2 separate regions of the Homo sapiens genome follow, and region 2 is linked to region 1. The links are contacts of gene promoters, found by promoter capture Hi-C in human tissues and cell types (Jung and others, 2019). All regions are on one chromosome and are shown on one strand. The core of a region is centred on a gene start or on the middle of the fragment in contact, and the rest is flanking DNA. Distances in the headings are between cores, read along the strand shown.

Region 1 (4,137 bases), core at 423-2,922:
GCCTCAAAAAACAAAAAACAAACCAAAACCCCCACTTTTTTTCTATGAAACCAGCCTCGCTCTGTCACCCAGGCTGGAGTGCAGTGGTGCCATCATGATCCTCCCACCTCAGCCTCCCGAGTAGCTGGGACTACAGGCATGTACCACTATGCCTGGTTAATATTTTTATTATTTGTAGAGATGAGGGTCTCAGTATGTTGCCCAGGCTAGTCTTAAACTCATGAGTTTAACCAATCCTCTCGCCGCTGCCTCCCAACGTGCTAGGATTACAGGTATGAGTCACGGTGCCCGGCTTCTTTCTTAACTCTTTCTAGTAGTTCTACCACTTGGGATTACCTTTTTCCTTCCTCTCCATTTACCTTTATGAAATCCTCACATCCATCCATCTCCATCAAATCTTTAACAATTCTCCTCTGTCTTTTTTGACTGTAGGGACCTTTAGAACACCCAGCATTAAAAAATAGATTTCAGGCCGGGCATGGGGGCTCACGCCTGTAATCCCAGCACTTTGGGAGGGCCGAGGCAGGAGGATTTCGTAAGGTCAGGAGTTTGAGACCAGCCTGGCCAACATAGTGAAACCCTGTCTCTACTAAAAATCCAAAACTTAGCCGGCAGTAGTGGCGCGTGCCTGTAATCCAGCTACTCTGGAGACTGAGGCAGGAGAATTGCTTGATCCTGGGAGGTGGAGGTTGTGATGAATTGAGATCGCGCCATTGCACTCCAGTCTGGGCAACAGAGTGAGACCCTGTCTCAAAAAAACAAAAGGAATATTTTTTAAATTTTTACCGTTCTGAAAGCACATTGACATCCTTTGAATTTTTTTCTAATTATTTCACTTTGATTTGTAAATTCTCAACTAGATTCAGGGGCTGTATGGGTTACAATTCCTCTGCACCCTCCACAGAATTTCAGACTTTTTTTTTTCCCCCGAGACAGAGTCTCGCTCTGTCACCCAGGCTGGAGTGCAGTGGCGCGATCTTGGCTCACTGCAACCTCCCCCTCCCGGGTCAAGCGATTCTCCTGCCTCAGCCTCCCGAGTAGCTGGGACTACAGGCGCCCGCCACCACGCCCGGCTAATGTTTGTATTTTTAGTAGAGACGGGGTTTCACCATGTTGGCCAGGCTGGCCTCGAACTTCTGGCTTTAAGTGATCCGCCTGCCTCGGCCTCCCAAAGTGCTGCGATTCCAGGCGTGAGCCACCGCGCCCGGCCAAGGTCTTAATTCTTGCCTGCCTTTCTGCTCCCCTGTGAACTCTACTGGTTGTCTTTTTTCCTGCTTTATCCCTCGTCCTCGGTAGACAGTGATGGTTAAATGAATGAATGCATGAACAAATGACTGTCCAGGAGCTAGTACTGCATTGCATGTACACATTGATGACAACAGACATCGTACAATGCGCAATCTTGGCAAATTTATTCAAACCCTTTAGACTTCGCTCTCTCACAGTGCGACGCCGGGAGCCCATCACACGCTGAGGTCTGTCAGAGGCCCCAGAAACAGCCTCGGAAATGGAGGAGGCGGGGCTTCACCCCGACCACACCCCCTTGCGTTCAAAGCCTTTCCGCCTATGGGCCCGCCTCCTCGGCGCAGTGTGCAACTCTAATTGGTCGTCTCACTAATCCATCTGAGCACCTCGGCGCCGACTGGATCAACTGCTGAACTCGGGTTGCGCACTTCCCGGCGCTGGGAACGCGGAGCGGACGCAGTCTGGCCGCCATTGCGCTGCGGGGAAAGCGGCCTCTTGTGTGAGGGCCTGTGGGGTGCGTGGCAGGCGTTTAAGGCCGGGCTGCGGGAGGCGTGGTCGGGTCGGGCCGAGTGACCGAAGGGGTTAGGCCGGGCGGGGCTGGATGCACTGTGTGGCGGGACTGCAGGCCGGGGTCCCCGGACGCCTTTCTGCTGCGCTTCTTGTGGGCCCGGGCCTGTGGTTAGTGAATTTTTCTATCCCGCCGCTCCCCAGATTCTCCGGATATGGCCGGAGTGTTTCCTTATCGAGGGCCGGGTAACCCGGTGCCTGGCCCTCTAGCCCCGCTACCGGACTACATGTCGGAGGAGAAGCTGCAGGAGAAAGGTGAGGCGAGAGTGTGGAGCGGCGCGCGGGCCGGAGGCGGGGCGGGTGTGCGCGCGCGCAGGCGGGTGGGGACCCTCCCCGTTTGGGCAGCTCCTGAGGTGTCAGCTCCCTTGTTATTTCCAGTTAATTTTTCATCAAGTCATTTTAAGCGCGTATTATTTGCAAGCGCTGATCCAGCGGGGGTACAGTAGTGACGGAGACAAAATTCCTGTCCTTACGGGGTTTAAATTACAGCGGGAGAGACAGAGAATAACAAAACCTTGAAGCTCTGTAATAAAAATGTCAGGCCGGGCGCGGTGGCTCACGGTTGTAATCCCAGCACTTTGGGAGGCCCAGGCGGGCGGATCACCTGAGGTCAGGAGTTCGAGACCAGCCTGGCCAACACAGTGAAACCTCGTCTCTACGAAAAATACAAAAATGAGTCGTGTGTGGTGGCGCGTGTCTATAATCCCAGCTACTGGGGAGGCTGAGGCAGGAGAATGGCTTGAACCCAGGAGGCGGAGGTTGCAGTGAGCCGACATCGCACCATTGCACTCCAGCCTGGGAGACAGAGTGAAACAACCTCTCAAAAAAAAAAAAAAAAGTCAGATAGTGATCAATGTGATGAAAGGAAAAACAGAGTAAAATGGTAAGGGAATTGGCAAGGGGTGCTTCTTCCTGCTGGTGCCTGCTTCTCCCTCACACTCACTGACAGGAGCTTACCCTAGGGCAAGAGGTGAAGAGGATTAGGGGGAGGGTGTGCAGGCCTTTAAACTGAGGTGCCTTTCCAGCTCGAAAATGGCAGCAATTGCAGGCCAAGCGCTATGCAGAAAAGCGGAAGTTTGGGTTTGTGGATGCCCAGAAGGAAGACATGCCCCCAGAACATGTCAGGAAGATCATTCGAGACCATGGAGACATGACCAACAGGAAGTTCCGCCATGACAAAAGGGTTTACTTGGGGTAAGGAACATCCTGAAATAATTTCATTTGGAATTTGGCCCTTTTCCCTTCTCCCTGTCCCACAGTCTTGGATTGATGCTTTGACAGCTCATCTTGGTGGATATAAGAGAAAGGAGAAAACCAGTAGGAGTCTCTGATAATTTCTACATCTTCCACTTTTGCAGTCTGTTTCCCCTCTCTTCCCGATCTGGGACTGGTGCTTTAATTTGTCCTGTTGATGATATTATAAGATGTCCCTGGCCAGGCGCGGTGGCTCATGCCTGTAATCCCAGCACTTTGGGAGGCCGAGGCGGGTGGATCATGAGGTCAGGAGATCGAGACCATCCTGGCTAACACGGTGAAACCCCGTCTCTACTAAAAATACACAAAATTAGCTGGGCGTGGTGGCAGGTGTCTGTAGTCCCAGCTACTTGGGAGGCTGAGGCAGGAGAATGGCGTGAACCTGGGAGGCGGAACTTGTAGTGAGCCGAGATCACACCACTGCACTCTGGCCTGGGCGAAAGTACGAGACTCCGTCTCAAAAAAAAAAAAAAAATGAAAAATAAGATGTCCCTATGGTTGAGCTGGTTGAAGTCCAGAGTGGGATACTGTGCATAGTGGCAGCCTGTCGCTCCTCAGGGACCTGAATTCTGTGTTTGGGGTATTTAATTTCAGAGGTTTCCCTACTCCTGTTTTTTCTGTGGCTCTAAACTGGGCTAGTACAGGTACAGATGTCTTAGCAGATTCCTGTTCTATTTGGACACAAAAATGTTTGCCATGTAATGAACTGGAAGTTTTGTTTATTTCAAAAAATACTTAGAGAACTGTGCTGGCTGCTGGGGATATAGTAGCGAGCAGAGGGTAACAATCTCCGCCTTTCTGCAGTGTGCGGTCTAGTGGCCTGACAGACATGAGACAACTGGTGATAGTGAAGTATGGTGAATACTTTATTATGATTTATGGGAAGATGCGGAGGGAATAGGATGTGAGAGAGCCGCAAAGCTGTCTCCAGAGGGATAGCCGTTGATTTAGAGGAGCTGATACCAGCATTGTGGGATTATGACGTTTAAGAAGAGTGGTGCAAGGTGAAGTTGGAGAGGGAGAGGCAGGGTTTCTGGTTAGGAAGGGCCTGTGGGCTAAGTTTGGGAGTTT
Region 2 (4,137 bases), core at 110-2,609, 130 kb after region 1:
CTGAACTTCTTCCACTCTCCTCTCCTGGCGCAGCCTTGTTCTTTGCTTCCTTCTGAAATCACAGCCCCACCCCGCCCCAGCTTCCAGTTAAACTCGAGTTTGGGTGAGGTTCGTCAGCCAGTATAGTGCCTCCAGTCACTGGGCTCCGTCTCTCTTTCCTGCAGTGTCAGCATGAAGCTCCTGTGATAACTTCCACTCTGTTCCCAATATGAACTGCACCTTTGAAAAATGAAATCAGGCCAGCAGAGCCTGCAGCACATTTAGTTGAGACAGACATCCAGGCTTGTTGGCCCCCGAGAGGGGTGGGCAGACACTGGCCCTTTAGAGGACTGCCTCCAGGGGTGGGCTACATATCTGATAAGAGCTGTGGGGACCTGGGGAGGGGGCCAGAGGTGGGCCTTGACCGTGATCTTGGGGTTCTGGGAAGGGCAGAAAAGAGAAACGAGACTGGGGAACCTGGGAACCAGGGAGAATGAGGGAATGGCTGGGTAGATGGCTCTAATCCCTGTAGGCACTGGGGATGTACCTGGGGCCTGAGAACCAGGTGCCTGGGCTGACAGGTGTTGGCTTGGAAGGGTCTTGTTAACCCACCTGCTTTGGCCATGCTGTCTTTATTTTTTTTATTTTATAATATTTATTTTAAATAGTGGAGATAGGGTCTCACTCTGTTGTCCACGCTGGTCTTGCCTCAAGTAGTCCTCCTGCCTCAGCCTCCCAGAGTGCTGGGATTACAGATGTCAACCACTTCACCCAGCCTGTGCTGTCTTTATTGAAAATAGCAAGCGATGATTTTCCAAACCAGAAGGCCAAGCAGGAAAGCCCAGCGCGTCCCTTGCCCTCAAACTCAGCTCTTGGGGAGGTGTCCAGTGACGTCCTCTCTGCTGTACAGGATGATCCCACCCCGATCGTTAGGAAGATGTGCCCCAGGAACTCGGGATTTCCTTAGTGTGGTGATTAGGGGTGAAATGGATCCTTTGATAGGGAGTTTCTTGATGGAACGAAGGGCGAGAGTGTCTCTGAGAAGTGCTGCAGACCAAGGAGGGCCAGCCTGTCCTGGAGCACCTGGGGCTGTTCTTGGAGTAAGGCTGAAGGGCCAGACACTGATGGCTTATGGTGGGGCCAAGACTGGAAGGAAAGGGGAACTTCCACCTTGAGAGCATCCACAGTTGGCGGGTGTTCACTTGTGATGGTTTTTCTGCAGCATTGAGGAAGTGGTGGGGCGGAGTTGAGTAATCAGAGCCTGAAGTCTAAGCAGAAGCTTGGGAAGTGAGTGCTGATCAGGATTCACCTGTCTGCCTGGCAGTGGTCAGCCCGTTCTCAGCAAGAAACCATTGACAAGAAAGTACCACGTGGCCTGGGTAGGGTCGAAGCGGAACTTAGTTTCAGAGAATTAGAAAAATCTTGGAGGGGAAGGCCGAAGAAGAAACAATTCATGATCAACCTTCTCAGAGTCTTTGTCAGTAACCCCATCCCCATCCTGACTTAACAGTTTCTATGGGAACAGCTCAGCATCTTGTGACTGGTGGATTCACTTCCTAAATTGGAGGCCATGACTTGAGGCCTTTGCAGTTTTCTGATTTAGGGGAAAGTGAAGAAAGGGAAAGAGAAGGTCATGCCTTTGTAATCATTCCGATGGCCTGCATCAATATTTTGGGGGCAGAATTAGCTTCTGGGTGGCCAGAGCCTTTGGTCTAACCCTGAGTGTCTGGGCGTTGTGCAGCAGAGCGAGAAAGCCCTGGCTGTTTGACGGGGTGTGTCCACCAGTGCTTCCTGGCACAGGTCGGCCGGGCTGCTTCACTTCTTGTTTCCAGAGATTCACGGCACCAGTCCCCCTCTGGTACCCAGCCTGACAGGGCCATGTTGGTGGGACCAAAGCTGTACTGTTGTTTATGACGTGTTTCATGTCAGTATTTCAGGCCCACCCACTGGGCTCCCCCTCCCAGATTGCCAAAGTTGTGGAGTCTGTTTTTCTTAGTTGAATGTCTTAGTTCTCTGGGATAGGTGAACAGATCTCAAGAGCAAGGAACATCATCGCAGGTCTGAGGAGGCTAGATTCCCAGTCCTGTTGGAGTTTTTTAAATCTGATTTAATGATCTGACCCTCCCACTCCTATCTCTGCCCCATCCGAGTCTGGCTGCTTTCCCAGGGGGCAGAGCAGCTGTGCCAAAAGGAACTCTAACGTGAAAAGCGCCCTTCACTTGTAGCTTGTGCAGGCCAGTCTTGCTTACCCCTTTAGATTAACAAAACTGCCTTCACTTGTCTCATTGGGATTAAAGGATCAGAATATCAAGAGAGATTGAAGGGGGAAGATGCCAGCCAACAGGCTGATCCTCTTAGAACCTGCCCTCTGATTCCTGCAGCTGAAGAGAAACCAAATGAAGGCGATTAGTCTCTGCCTGGGGTCCCCCTTCCCAAGTGGTACCACTAGCTGGGAACCTCGCCCCCTCCACCAGGCCCTCTCCCCAGCCTGTCCTTTAGGATTGCTGAGTCAGTGGTTAGATGTTCTTACGGCTCTTCTCTGAAACGGAGTTACTGCTCCTTCTTAGGCACCCCTGGCTCAGCCAAGCCCTGACCCACCTGACGGGTTTTCATGTGTGCCTAGCTGGGTGGTGGACTTGGAGAGGCACAGGGACAGCTTGGGGCTCCAGGGGGGCATTGAGGCAGCACTGATGCAGCTTAGGATTAGCAAGGTCAAGGTGACTGGCTTTCACCCATATGTTCCTCTGTATGGATTTCACTGAGCCTCGATTGCTGCCCCTTTTCATGGCATTTTGTTCTGGGATTTTGCTTTGAAAGTTAGGGCTCTTTCAGCCTTGTGGTGAGCAGTGAATTGTCCTCGTCCTCTGCTTCACTTTCCAGATTTTGCCCAGAAATTTCCCTGCAGTGCTTAGGAAGCTGCCTGGTAGAGCAGGTTTCTAAGTTTGAGGCGAAGCAGCTCTGGAAGCTGCCTCTGTCCTTGCTGTTGGAGGCAGTGATTTAAGTAGCAGTTGCCTAGAGATACATCCTTTCTGTTTTAATCTCAAAGAGAGAAAAACCCAGTCCCTGTAATCCCAGCTACTTCGGAGGCTGAGGCAGGAGGCAGGAGGCAGGAGAATCACTTGAACCCAGGAGGCGGAGGTTGCAGTGACCTGAGATCGCACCACTGTGCGATCTCTGTCTAAAAAAAAAAAAAAAAAAAAAAAAAAATAGAGAAACACCCTTGTCTTCCCCCCGGGGGTGCCAGGAGTTGGGCATAGAGCTCGAGGAAACCCTTTGTCCCCCTCCACCCCCCAGCATGTTGGGTAATCCCATAGCTTTTTTCCTTTTTCTCATACTCCCTAAGCAGCCATGCCTGATTAGCACCGGCAGCGGTAGGAAAGACACATCCGTTGGTGTAGACATAATTTCCTGCCTCAAATGTTGCTGTTCATTTTCTTTTCACCTTGTTTTCTCCTCTGGACAGCTTCTCAGAGAAGAAGGCGGAAGGGCTAAGTCTGGGCACTGCCTAGGTCATTGGCCCATCCTGACAGGGTCAGAGGAGGCCAATCATGTTGACTGGTGACTTGATAGGGTGGCATGTGACCCAAATAAAGGAAAACTAGGTTTTTGCCATGTAGTAAGTGCCAACACAGAGGGTGCACCCAGCCGGCACAGACTGTGGGGCAGGAATCTGTAATATCTCATGTGGGAAGCAGGAATACTTGCTTGGCCCCACCAGGAATCTGGAAAATGTCAAGAGGTTTCATTGCCTGAAAGAGCTACTTGCGGGGTGAGGAGAGGCCTAAGACTAGAGAAGAAGCGAGTAGATGAGCCAGTTTTACGATAGAGGTTGCGGATTTCACAGAGCGCTGAGCACCTTTCTTTGACAAGAAATCAAGTCTTAGGATCTATTTAAATGGGTGAGATCCAGTGATTTCTAGCAACCAACCTAGGTCTTCTGGGGTCTTAATACCAGAAGCAGGCTTAGCACAAAAGCTCCTTTGGACTCTAATCTGTTTTCTGCGTGGTGGTGTCAGGTTAAGTAGACTCACCTGCCTCTTTAAATCCTGATGGATTGACTGGGAACGGTGGCTCATGCTTATAATCTCAGCACTTTGGCAGGCCAAGGTGGGAGGATGGCTTGAGACCAGGAGTTTTGAGACCAGCCTGGGCAACATA

Evidence for each region. The method cuts DNA at HindIII sites, captures the fragments that hold promoters and counts their contacts. A contact is called where the count stands out against the background at its distance.
Region 2: a fragment that was not itself captured here is called in contact with the fragment with the promoter of PRPF8 in region 1 in 1 of the 25 tissues and cell types used here (dorsolateral prefrontal cortex).

Annotation. Positions count from the first base shown.
Region 1 is chr17:1,682,402-1,686,538 of GRCh38, reverse strand. It overlaps PRPF8 (pre-mRNA processing factor 8), which reads left to right and starts at 1,672. Exons shown (of 43, transcript NM_006445.4): 1 at 1,672-1,759; 2 at 1,957-2,067; 3 at 2,838-3,006. The coding sequence starts at 1,968. The HindIII fragment of the contact is 7,907 bases long and covers 448-4,137 here.
Region 2 is chr17:1,553,440-1,557,576 of GRCh38, reverse strand. The region is part of intron 2 of PITPNA (phosphatidylinositol transfer protein alpha); the gene reads left to right. Among named protein-coding and RNA genes, the nearest start is that of PITPNA, 7.3 kb to the left of the region's middle. RefSeq lists a silencer at 1,075-1,275 and an enhancer at 1,692-1,761. The HindIII fragment of the contact is 8,751 bases long and covers 1-4,137 here.